2 separate regions of the Homo sapiens genome follow, and region 1 is linked to region 2. The links are contacts of gene promoters, found by promoter capture Hi-C in human tissues and cell types (Jung and others, 2019). All regions are on one chromosome and are shown on one strand. The core of a region is centred on a gene start or on the middle of the fragment in contact, and the rest is flanking DNA. Distances in the headings are between cores, read along the strand shown.

Region 1 (6,379 bases), core at 2,414-4,913, 390 kb before region 2:
TAATATAAGAAGGAGGTCAGTTTTATAGTCTTTCATTTTCCCTTTCTGGCTGTAAATGTGTTCTGGCATTAACAAACAATAGAATAAATGAGCACTGGGAGTCCTCTCTTGCACAGCTGTGTGTTTGGGTACACAAAGAGGGTGGGGCCCCCACTCCCTAGTGTCCTTTAAGGGGACCTTTCACACAGCAATGGCTGATTGTGTCTCACAGTCTAGTTGGGGCTCTAGAAATCTAAGTTTAAGTCATTGAATGCATCATCGGGATAGGATGAATCAATTAGCTAAATGCTTGAAATAGGAGCATTTGGTTACCCAACCGTAGTACAGCCTTGCGGGGTGGGGCAATGTGAGGCAACCACTCCAGGGCTTTTAAGTCAGTTCTTTTTAGTTTATAGGCAACTTTAGCATATTAGACAGGCTGCATTGTCTTGTTATAGTCATATAGTCAAATCTTGAGTTTTTAAAAATAAACACAGAAATTACTGTTTTAAATACAGTGGTAATTGTGGAAAAATTCAGGTTGGATTATTACAGTAAGCACATTAGGTCACTGTAGTTAATTACTGGCATATTATATTCCAATAGTAGAAACAACATTTCTACCATTTTCCTATTTTAAAAAACCACCCACGATGTTTGATCTCTGCTTTTGAAATACCACTGTTACGGTAGTACAAATGGCACCATTTATTGTTAGGGTAATTGCTTTTCCAACACTGTGAATGATTACTCTCTTCTAAATTCCTTTATTGCTTTATCTGCACCTCTTTTGTGGCTCTTGGTGCATTTTCCCATGCTTTATGAATCCTGAAATACATTTGGCCCTTCTGTGTCCACACAGTCAACTAACCATGGGTCAAAAATACTTGGAAAAAATAGTAATAATAACAACACAATTATTAAAATGCAAGTAAAAAAGCAGTACAGTGTAACAACTATTTACATAGCTACTTTGTATTAGGTATTACAAGTAGTCTAGACATGATTTAAAGTATATAAGAGGATATGCATCTAGGTTATCTGCAAATACTATACTATTTTATACCAGGGACTTGAACATGTATGGATTTTGTTCTTGGAGGAAGGTCCTGGAACCAACCCCCCTCAGATACTGCAGGTTGTACATTCCTTTTCTGGTTCCAGGTAGCAGGATCAGGTGAGATTCATTGTGTATTACCCAGCTGCTTAGTAGGATGCCTTGCACAGGGTGGGATGCTCGGTGAAGATGAGCCCAGAGAGTCTTGTGACAGGTCTCACCTGCTTTTCTTGCTCTGTCTTCTCTTACAGCCCATTTCGTAAGCACAGGAGGCAGCCAGCTTCAAACCAGGGCTCATTTGGACTTGGTGGGATTCTATAGTGACAAAAAAAAATCTGCAGATATTTTTATGAAAGAAACTAGGAAGGGGCATAAATTATCTGAAGTATAAAGTTCACTCAGTAAAAATTGCTTTGAAATAAATTCACATTAACATAAATTCTCAATCCATGTTTAAAATAGTCTGCCCTTGTTAAGGGATACAGATTTTATAGAAAACTGTTTCTGAACAACTCTATAGTAAGATAGTTTGTAAAGGTTGCAGATTGCAAAGCTTTACTGAGGGTATAACTAGATTTACTATTGTATTTCAATAAAATGCCTCCATAAAAATAATAGTTGATAGGTGATATCTGAAAAAATAACAGAGTGGGAATCTCCCTCTTCACTGTGGAAAAAGAAAATGTTGCAGGAGGGAAATGTGGAGCTTGCAGTTGGTATTATTTGGCGTTTTTCAGTATGGAGGCAGTGTTGGATGCTGGCTATTTTTCTTCTGTTTTGGAGCAGAGAAATCAGAATGAGTTTTGTGGATCTGCTAATGCATTGAGGAGACCAGAACATACAGCACCTTCTGTGCTCTATCCATTTGTTCCCTGGCCATAAGGAAAGGCAAATTAGTGTGCTTTCATGAGCTCCATCAACTTTCATTCCTTAGAAATGCACACTCTGATGGGGCATTGGAACTGGCTCAGGCACCAGAGCGGCAGGACACCCTGCAGGCAAGTTCCCAGAATGTCTGGGGGCTGTGCTGGCCTGGGAGAGGCAGAGCCAGGTGCGATGGAGAAGAGCTGAAGAGAAGCTTTCTAATAAAGTGGGTGTAAATATAAGACTGGAAAGAAGCTGTAAGATAGCCAGAATAACAGCTGTATTTATTCCTTTATTTCTTTACGATGTTTTATTTATAAGAATTCTTTCTTTTATTAGTGAAAGTTACATTTAATTGCTTTACCAAGTCATTTTCCAACTAGTGTTGTACATATTAAATCACCTGATTATAAAAGATGTATGGGGTGGAGGGAGCAGGTGTTCTGTGCTCAAATAATTTTGGAAAATGGGTGTAGCATTAAATGGGTTTCTATAAAGGTAGGACTACGTATAATTTAATATGCTAATAACTGGAATCCCCAAGAAAGGTGTTTACTTGAGTGAATTTCCTAGACAATCTGACCTGCTTTTATTGTTGGCTCTTCTACCACAGGCAGGGCCTCTGTTCAGTCAACACAAGCACGAGAGTTGGACAACATCAAGGGAAGGCCAAGTAACTTCACTCAACTGGATTCTATAGATACAAAATTAAGAGTGCTCGAAGAGTTTCTCACACTTAACCCATTTTTTAAATGACACATCTGTAAACCTCATTGGGGAGACATGTACAATATACTGTGTGTAGAACACTTGGAATGAAAAGAGGTTTTTTTCCTTTTTTTTTTTTATTGAGATGGAGTCTCCCTCTTGTCACCCAGGCTGGAGTGCAAGGATGCAATCTCAGCTCACTGCAACCTCTGCCTCCTAGGTTCAAGCAATTCTCCTCCCTCAGCCTCCCAAGTAGCTGGGATTACAGGTACATGCCACCACACCTGGCTAATTTTTGTATTTCTAGTAGAGATGGGGTTTCACCATGTTGGCCAGGCTGGTCTTGAACTCCTGACTTCAGGTGATCCACTGGCCTTGGCCTCCCAAAGTGCTGGGATCACAGGCATGAGCCACCGTGTCCGGCTTTTTTTCTATTTTTTTTTTTAATAAAAAGTGGAGAATTTACGCTGTATTTCAGACCAAATGTATATAACACATAGAGATTTATAGTTCTCTATCTAAAACTTCGGGATTAGATGTTTTGGAATTCAGAATTTTCTGGATTTTTAGAAAATTAATATGGTTTATGAGAAGAAAAAATTGCAACAAATTTGGTTATAGATCCGTTTGACTTTTATATGTGATTCATGAATTAGGCAGCCTCTATTCTACAAAGTAGAATGAAAGCTACCCCTGGGCAATAGCAGAAGAGTGGGCTTTATAAGGTGGGAACAAGGAAACAGAACACCAGAAAAAAAAGCCGATTGATTAGCATCAGGTTCCTCTTTTGTAAGCGTTAAAGCAAAGGGAGCTTCCATATGACACTGACTCAGGTAGACTGCGATCTCCTATTTTCAGGAAACACCGGACTGTATGGGATCTACCTGCTTCTCTAAAACTTTGGTTTGATTGTGTGGCATTTAGCATGAGTGACTCCATTTGGTTTGGTTTTGTCTACTGGGGCCCAGTGTAGGAGCTCAGTATAAAACAATGGCCTCCCATAATTTTTGTTTAACCTTATACTGTGGATGTTGAATTAAAAGAAATGAATAAACCTAGCTAGTTCTGGTAGAGTACCCAGTAGTGAAACACATTCATATTTCTGCATATTCACGAAGTGTAAGGGTAAATATTTTTAAAAGATAAATACTTTACAAACTTCACATTTGTCCAGGTCAGGTCTTGCCATCTAATGTTTTTTTTGGTCAAATTTATGAAAACTTTCCAGTCTTCAGACCTTAACGGATTATGGAATTTCAGGTAAGGGATCTAGACCACTACTCACAGAAATTAGAATGAGGCACATCATTGAATTTCCCTCTCCGCTGTTACATTTAGCCTAAAGCTGCCTTACATATTTTAAATTAGGCTTAAAGATTTCTCCATACATAATGAACTCTAACCTTACTAGAGGTATAAACAGCCTGTAACCTACCCTTGTACCAATCACAGAGTTTCAGCCAATCACAGGCTGTTCAAACCTTGTTCAAATAAGGCAAATGTGAACTGTAACCAACCCAGCTATTTCTGTACCTCACATCTGTTTTCTGTAGGTCATTTTCCTTTTTCTGTCCATAAATATTATCAGACTATATGGCAGTTCCTGAGTCTCTCTGAACCTATTCTGGTTCCAGGGACTGCCCAATTTTTAAGGTGTCCTTTGCTCTGTTTAACTCTGTTAAGTTTATTTATTTATTTATTCATTTATTTATTTTTATTAATTTTTGAGACAGAGTCTCGCTCTGTCACCCAGGCTGGAGTGCAGTGGTGCGATCTTGTCACACTGCATCCTCTACCTCCCGCATTCGCGTTCCAGCGATTCTCATGCCTCAGCCTCCTGAGTAGCTGGGATTACAGGCACCCGCCACCAGGCCCAGCTAATTTTTTTTTTTTTTTAAGTAGATACAGGGTTTCACCATGTTGGCCAGACTGGCCTCGAACCCTTGACCTCAAGTGATCAGCTTGCCTCAGCCTTCCAAAGTGCTGGGATTACAGGAGTGAACCAACGTGCCTAGCCAAACTCTGTTAAATTTAATTTGTCCAAAGTTTTTCTTTTAACGCTGCTTAGCTCACTGCAAAACCCAGAACTAAGTGTATGGCCCAACTGTGACAATGACACGGAGTTACAGGAAACATGTTTTAATGTGCCTAACCTCAATTCTGACCTCATTTTATTTTTCTGCTTTCATTTTTCCTTATCTAACTTCCTCATCTATCAATTGTATGCTAATTGTGTATTAAATATATAAATTATATTCACTGAATGTTTTATTGAGTTATTAAGTGTTCATTCAGTAAACACTGAATGTTTACTGATCCTTTTGTGGGGGAACTTGTTGAAGTATCAGTAAAACAAATTTTGGATGGAAGTGCCTTTGCCATCAAGGGGCAGCATACCTGAATCACAGGATCGAATTTTGAGGGGTACACAAACAAATTGAATCAACAAGCCCGACGTTACACACCTGCAGCATGCCTCACAGACTCCACCTTCTTGTGATGCAGGTATCGGAATTTTAATGCTTTTGAGGGCAAAGGATGATGTTTTATTGTTCTTGTTACAGGAAAAATTATTCATGAAAGTTATTAAAGAACAGTAAGGCAGACTTTATCGGGGGGCTACTGCAGTGAGGTTTGGTAGTGGGGGAGAGATTCTGCTCAACTCCATATTCAACAAGGAAAAGTGGAGATTTATAGCCAAGGAATGAGGGAGTGGAGGGAGTTGGAGGATAAAAAATTACTAAGGTGAGGAAAGGGGGATTCTCACTCGACTGACCAAACTGCTTGAGACAGTGCTCAGCTATGCTGTCTGTCATACGTGCCAAAGCTTTACAAGTTTCTTCATGATAGTCTCTGATGGTGTGTAATTCCTGACTTAAAAGCATAGTTCACCCTTTGTAAAGCTTTTCTGCCTTTGTGTTTGGTTTGGTTTGGTTTGATTTTTCTCCTTTGGAGGCTAAGCCCAAATGATATTACTTAATGAAAGTCTGAACTGTTTGGGATTTGCCCATCCACCTAGGATGCAGAAAGCTCGAAAGAGCAGTGCTGGCAACCAACCTTCCTACAGGAAAAGGCAGGTAGAATGCTAACTTTTCTCAAGCTCATAGGGAAGCTGAGGTCTCAGGGCCCTCGAGGTGTCTGAATCCAGAGAGATACAGATGGCTCACCTGTGGCAGATCATGGGTGGAAAGGTTGACTGCCGTACAAAGGGGTAAGAAGAGATCAGTAACACTTTAGCGAATTGTTAGAGTCCCAGTGTGGACTGGAATATCAATCTGGAATATCTGAGGGCCCTGATACTGGAGGAGTTTGCATTCACTTGTAGGCCATTTTCTGTCGGCCTCCTCTGGGTGCTCATGAGAGCAGGGTGGGAAAGCAGACAGGCTTCCTCCGTGTTGTAGGAAGTGATTGGCTGCTGCTGCAGAAATAGCAGAAAACCCTGACTCCCTGCTCCAAGATAAAGCTAATCAATAAAAGCAAACTGAGGAACTTGAAAATAACTAACAACTAGAATAACTTCAAAGTCACTGTCTGTCAGGGACTTAAACAACCATTAAAGGACAAGACGGAAAACATGGATAACATGTATGAACAGATAAGGAGAAGTGGAAACTACAAAAAAAAACTACAGTCAAATGCAAATGTAGGTAATAAAGCCACGATATCACATATGAAGAATTCCTTTGAGAAGCTCATCCATACACTCGATGAAACTAGGGAAGGAATCAGTGAATTTAAAGATAGATTAGGTCAGTAGAAATTATTTAAACT
Region 2 (7,099 bases), core at 88-2,587:
CTCTGAAAACTATACATATATATTATATATATAGTTTATATATATGTAGTTATTTATAACTTTTCCCTTTGGGGGTGTAATGGTTTACAGCTGTGAGTAGAAGAGCCTGCTGGGGGAGCAACATACTGGGTATTCACCGTTTAGTCTACGGTGTCTAGCTGATGCCAGGAACAAGCAAGGGCTCAATATTTGTGTGCTGAATTAAACTGATTACAACTGAACCATGTAAGAATGGTGGTAGCCTCAGAGAGGCAGCCTCACTCCACAGGCGCATGCCACCGAGGGCCTGTTGGTCCACACGGTGCTACAGTGAGAGCTCAATGAAAAGGCCCTGCAAGACACCATTTCTCCCCAATAGAAATGTGCTTTGTTTGTGATTATTCAGTCCTTTTGTTAGAACAGGTCTCCCACCTATCTCCCAGGAAATAATATGTACACAAATCTGTGAGTCTAGGATGTGAAGGAGACACCATTAGATGTGGCATCTTCTGGGTCAGACCAGTGCAGGGCCAGGTACAAGAAGCAGGGGCTCTCCTTCCCCAGTTGCTGCTGACATTTGGGGCTTGCTTTGGTCTTCTCCCAGGAGAGATCATTTGAGCCTTTTCAGGTCTGGAGTTGTTTGAACTGACTTAAGAGGAATTTTCCGCAGGAACGAAGCAATAAGAAGCTTCCGAGATCCAGTATTTCCAGATAAGCCAAAATTCTAGATTTATATGGATAAAGCAGGCAGTTCTACTAGGAGACTATCATGAGGAATATGATGTACCCAGGCCAGTGGCAGGATAGCTGTGCGCCGAAATGAAATAAATGCTGGTGGTATTTCACATACCCCATCAGAGGAAGCAAGAAAATAGAGTTACAATATTTTGTATTATTAAATTGAGACTAGCAATTTCAACTTAGAACAGGATCAATTGTATAGCATTTCACAGTTTACCACACATTTTGAGTGAATGCTTTTTTTTTTAACCATTGGAACCTCATAAACAACTCCAAATAACATACAAAAAGCAGATTGTGAGCTACAACATTACCAGGTCACAGGTCTTCATTTCCCATGAGGTACTCGAGACCCATGAGTGACTTGTCTAAGGTCACACAACTGGTGTTTAATAGAGCCAGTCTTCTGTTAGCCATACCTACTGCTAAAAATTAGCCTTTGCAAGTGAAGAGAACAAAAACGTGTGGTTGGTTGTCACCCCCACAATGAACGACAATGCTGCACTTGCAGCATTATTGACACCTAAGGTTGATGACAGTCCTGTCTCTTTAAGAAGAAAAAAAAAGGCTGCTGGGTAGGGGGAGCGACTGACTGCGGCAGGAGCCGCCTGGACCCAGTGCGGCTGCGGGACAGTCACGCTGGGAACTGCTGATGGCACTGGAGGAAAACAAAGGCCGAGAGACCCTGATGCCCACAGCCCCCAGTAAGTCCAAGGTTCCAGCTGGGTGGCCAGCGAGGGCAGCTGCAGGAGCGGCCTGGGGACGGGCAGGCTCCATGGTGTTGTTGGCCATCCGTCCCCTGAGCCTTGGGAAACCAGGGCTCGGCCACTGCAGCTGCTTGGGGGAGGTAAGGGGCCACTTTCCTTTAACATACCCGCCTTCGGAGAGGACAGAGACGAGAGGGCCTTCAGCGTGCTGTACAGCTGTGAGTAATGAGCTCTTCTGAAAATGTACAGTTTGGGTTGGCTGCTTGTGAATTTGTGGGTGAGGAGCGGCTGCAGGGTGACTAGAGAGATCTGCCGCGGTCAAGATGCTGGACTAGCCGCTTTGTCATTTTAATTTCCACCCGGGTTGCCAGGCACCGCCACAATGGAGCTGTTGCAGTAACACAGCGTGGGGTCCAGAGTCTTATTGAACAATAAGATGGGATTCTCAAAGTAGCTTACGGTTAATTTGCAGAATTGCTCTCACTTTAAACAGCATGCCTTCAAACAATGCCATATGTTATGGTTATCTTATATAATATTTGAAAATCCTGCTTTTAGTTAAAAAATATTTCACATATTTAATTTTATTCTAATAAGCGATCATTAGATTCTTTGAAAGAGTATTCCAGCTTTAGCAACAAAACCTCTCTCTCGCTGTCTTTTTTTCTTCCTTAAAACGAGGTCAATACCTCAGAGAAGAGGACTGGATTTGTTTCTATTAAAACATATCAATTGTTTTGGCTTTAATCTTAATTCTCTCTGCCCCTGAAGATGGATAAAGCCCATTCCGCTTAAGTAAAAGGCAGAAGCCAGGTTGAATCCACGTGCTTCCCAAGCGCAAGCTGCTCTGAAGTTATTTTGAAGGGGAACTCTTCATTTCTCCATCAGTGCAGATAAAAGTAATTGATTCACAGGTCATGGATGAAAATAATAATAATAATAATAAATAATTGACAATCCCATTTTATTTGTCACATGACAAGTAGATTTGCCATTCTGTTTTTCTTAAGCTGCCCATTGATAACCAGACTCATTCTACGTTAATGCAGGGTCATGATGTCCCAGTAGTTTTACTTATGACCATCCAGACTGCCTTCCCTAATCTTGCCCTGAAGCCTCACTTTGGGCTGTGACAACGATCCCCAGTTTCCTTTCCTCTATCCTCCTTAGCCGTCCCTTTCATCCTTTCTTCTCCTTCCTGGGCTGTTTGGGCAATTTTTTCTTTCTTTTCTCCTTGGATCTTAAAGACTCCTTCAGTCTCCCTTTCAAACAAAGCAAGCCAGATTTTCTACATACCCTATTTTCCTTTAATCTTACTTGGTTTATAAGAACTTTTCCACGATTAAGTGTTTTCTATTCTTCACATAATAGGAAGAAAAGTCCAATTATAGAACTTGAAGACCAAGGTTTGCTTACATCTGAAGCATCTCAAAACCATTGCTTTACGCAGGACTTGCCCCCAGAAGCCCCGGGTTCCAATCTCAGGTCTACCACATCCTTACTCTGCAGCCCCTGACAATCCACATAACTTCTGTGAGCCTCAGTTCCCTCCTGTGTCAGAGATGACACAATTATTCACTTAATGGTCACAGGGTTGAAACCAGGTGATTTGTATGAAGGCGCCTAGCAGGGTTCTTCACACAGTGTCACTATTTAGTAAGAGTTTTGTCGTTTTCTCACTCAGTCCACCATCTACCTAACCACCATGGTGAAGCATGCTAAAGTGGTTCATGCACCATTTCCCAAAAGGAATAAATTTTGAAATGAACTTTTGGCTGAGTGCATCTGAATGAGTCCTGATCAGTACAAAATACATATTCAGTTCTTGCTATGCACGAAACACTGTTCTAAGCCCTCTTGTCTATAAAAGGAACGCTGATGTTTCCATGTTGCCATAGGAGTATTCTTTGGAAGAAGGAAGGCCGATTCTCTTTGTACAACTCTTCCTAAATCCTTTAAGACAGCAGCAGTGATGATGATATTGACCACTCCCACCATGAGCCTACATGAGGACTACTAAATGTGATTGATGCAGAGGATGCCAAATTGGAAGTCAGGACAATTCCCATTGCTATTCTGATCTTGGACAGCCTGGGTGGCAATTTGCTCTTTGCAATGACAATCCTGTTACTATTTTAATTTCTACTTTATGTGTCTTTCTCCTGCCGTCTTTCCTTTCCTTAACTCACACTCAGGATATTGTGTAAGATTTTAACGTCTAGGAGAGGCCGTTTCACCCCTACCTAAGGGGGAACATAGCGAAGTTGGGAAAAGCACTGGATTGGGGACCAAAGGGTGTGGCTCCAGCCCTGCTTTGACTTCTCTTTGTGCTAATTAGAAAGCCTTTTAACGCCATCTCTAAGGCAAGAGACATAGAATAATCTTTCAATTTCCTTCAGGTTCTGACTAGATGATTCAGATAGCTCTCTTTGGGGTAGCCTCAGTTTACAACAATTATTTGATCAAATTAAATGCTTTTATCTCATTGATTCTTACAATAGCCTTATGAAACAGGCAGCCCCATTTTGCAGATTACAAAATGCAACCTTAAGAGAGAGTAGAACCCCAAGTATTTCTTATTAGTAAAAGGAGAGACTGACTAGATGGTAAGACTCGATTCCCTTGGGGAGCATCACTGAGTTCTCAGACTGAACTCTGAGCTCTGTTCCTACCATGGTATCCCCCTCAAGGCACTTCAAATTGACGACGATGTGAAACCCAAGGTGACACGTTGGTTCTGGGTTTTGTCAGGAGAGATCTGTGGTCCAATTATAATAACCTTACATCCAGACAAACATTTGTTTTAAATATTCTGCTCGAGATTACACCATGAGTTTGTCATCTGGGGCAGAAAATAAGGGCTCTACAGTCCACATAGCCTTTTAATGTGTTCTGAAATGACATTTAAAAATAAATCAAAGCCATCCTAATATAATTATTGGTGATCATTTAAATCCTTACCTCATTAAAGTACTAAGTGCTAGAAAGGAGTATTTGAATTCTATACGTATCTAGAATTTGTGCACATTTTCACATAGTACTACTTTAGCCTTTTTCCTTGTTTTTAATGCAATGATAAATTTCACCATTTAAAAACCCTGATAGGATTACAAGATTAAATACAAAAAATATTGCATAAGACATAAACATACTAAAAAATAATTCGTGGTTTATCTGAAACTCAAACTTAAGGTGTATATGTTTATATTTATAATTTTTATTTGCTAAATTTGGCAATATGATATAAACAGAGCTTTACTTGATCAATGATAGTTACTTAGAGCTTAAGGATATTAGTTTGTTAGGTCTTTAAGCTTCAAACATAAATTACAACCAATCTTTATGAGTTTTTTGTCAATTACACCAAATATTCCTTTAGTTTTATTTATTAATTTTTTTTTTTTGAGATGTTGTCTAACTCTGTCACCCAGGCTGGAGGCCAGTGGTGCAATCTCGGCTCACTGCAACCTCCACTTCCCGGGTTCCAGTGATTCTCCTGCCTCAGCCTCTCGAGTGGCTGGGATTACAAGTGACTGCTACCACGTCCGGCTAATTTTTGTATTTTTAGTAGAGACGGAGTTTCACCATGTTGCCCAGGCTGGTCCTGAACTCCTGATCTCCAGTGATCTGCCCACTTCAGCCTCCCAAAGTGCTGGGATTACAGGCGTGAGCCCAGCCAATATTATATTAAATGTTTATGCTAAGTGACCATCCAGAGACAATCCTGATTACAAAGAACAGATCTATGTTCATTTTACTGTCATATTCCTGAGAGTCCCTGCTAAGAATAGTAATAAAAAGTACCCAAGATTTTAATGTATTTGGAGGAAGATATACTGGGTTTTGGAACCTGGCTCCACATCATACTAGTTCTGACACTTAACCTCTTGCAGCCTCAGCTTCCTCCTTCTTAAATGGGATTCATGATAGGTTAAAAATCCCTACCTCGGGCCTGGCACGGTGGCTCACGCCTGTAATCCCAGCACTTTGGGAGGGCCAGGTGGGCAGATCACGAGGTCAGGAGATCGAGACCATCCTGGCTAACACGGTGAAACCCCGTCTCTACTAAAAATACAAAAAAATTAGCCGGGCATGGTGGCGGGCGCCTGTAGTCCCAGTTACTCAGGAGGCTGAGGCAGGAGAATGGCGTGAACCCGGGAGGCGGAGCTTGCAGTGAGCCGATATCGCACCACTGCACTCCAGCCCGGGTGACAGAGCGAGACTCCGTCTCAAAAAAAAAAAAAAAAAAAAAAAAAAAAAAAAAAATCCCTACCTCAACGACTGAATCACAGTTTAGTGAGCCTCTGCCATGGTTGTACATGGTCAATCCTCCCCAAAGAATTAGTTTTTAAAGAAATAATTGAATATTATTTTTCCTTCAAAAAGTCAATATTATTAGATAATATCAATTAAGATATTATGTATTCTGAAATGACACTTAAACATCAAATATATTTTAGTCATATAATCTATTTTTAAAATTTCATTTAGCAGCTTTGAGATATTCACATACCATACAATTCACTCATATGTGATATTATTTTTATGTAAAATTTTATCTTTGAGAATAATTGAGCTTTTGAAGGCAAACCTAAGACTCTGGGAGATTCTATTTCGGTGCCAGCCTTCTAGTCTCCTGCCTCCACAATTAGCTCTGCCAGTTGACAAGCTAGAATCTGAGGCCAGATAAACTACATACAAAATATGTGTAGTTTTATTATCTGTAAATTGGCTAAAGAGACTAAATTATTCACTCTTTATTGAATACTTTCTGTATCCATAAACCTAAGTAGGAGAGTCAAAGGTGAATAAGATATTCTTGAGCAACTTTCAGCAAAGTAGATGAGAAAGATTTGTATGACACAGAAGGGATTTGGAGCACTGGGGGAATAATTTATATATTTTTCTTATTATTGAAATACAGTATTTTTTCTGTTGTACATTTTACATCGAAATCTTTATTACACACACACAAAAGATCAGTAGCACTCTCCTTTACCTTCACCTTTTGTGCTCTAGAAACTATTTTACGTACATATTTAATTTCAGGATTATATTTAAGGTCTGGTACTGGCTGTGGTGACCCCCGACCTTTCCTGCAGCACACTATGCCAACACAGGTCTTTCATTAATGTCATCCAAAATGCTTGCTGTGCCTTACCTTTAAAGGTCTATTGATTTATAGCGTGAATTCATCCGACTTTTCCATTTTGCAAATATTCTATTTTTAAACCAATTTAGTCTTTGCTGACTCATATTTTCTCCTGAAGTTAGGAGAGTGAGATGATTACTTCGCTGATAATTCCCATGGAGGCGTTCTGTGGGCCTGAAGTCTGTCTGCATTTGGCTCCTTGTTTTTGTAATGATAGCGGCTTTCAAGGGTCAGCTTTCACCATATTCCAGAGGATTTGGCCATGTATGAATTTGGTTGAACCAAAAGGATGAATTTTTCATTCCCATCTTCAGATGAACATGGACCCCATTTCTTAGGAGATCACCAAGGGCAATTCTGCCTCTATTCCTTTCTCAAAGAGCGTTTCTAGGGAAACTCAAGCTGTTCTGCCAGGTGCAGCTGCAGAGGCGTGTCTGTGAACACGGCAGCACTGAAAACTATGAAAAGCGAAGGAATCCTTCAGGGAAGAGGGGCTTTACTAGTCCCAAAGACACTCTTA

Evidence for each region. Contacts are between HindIII fragments. The study calls those that stand out against the background at their distance.
Region 1: a contact is called between a fragment that was not itself captured here and the fragment with the promoter of SACS in region 2, in 1 of the 25 tissues and cell types used here (dorsolateral prefrontal cortex).

The regions. Positions count from the first base shown.
Region 1 is chr13:23,816,381-23,822,759 of GRCh38, reverse strand. The region is part of intron 14 of MIPEP (mitochondrial intermediate peptidase); the gene reads left to right. Among named protein-coding and RNA genes, the nearest start is that of PCOTH, 69 kb to the left of the region's middle. The HindIII fragment of the contact is 3,621 bases long and covers 1,853-5,473 here.
Region 2 is chr13:23,427,940-23,435,038 of GRCh38, reverse strand. SACS (sacsin molecular chaperone) reads left to right here and starts at 1,337. Exons shown (of 10, transcript NM_014363.6): 1 at 1,337-1,424. It overlaps SACS-AS1 (SACS antisense RNA 1), which reads right to left. Exons shown (of 2, transcript NR_103450.1): 2 at 6,170-7,099. RefSeq lists an enhancer at 1,518-2,085. The HindIII fragment of the contact is 7,525 bases long and covers 1-7,099 here.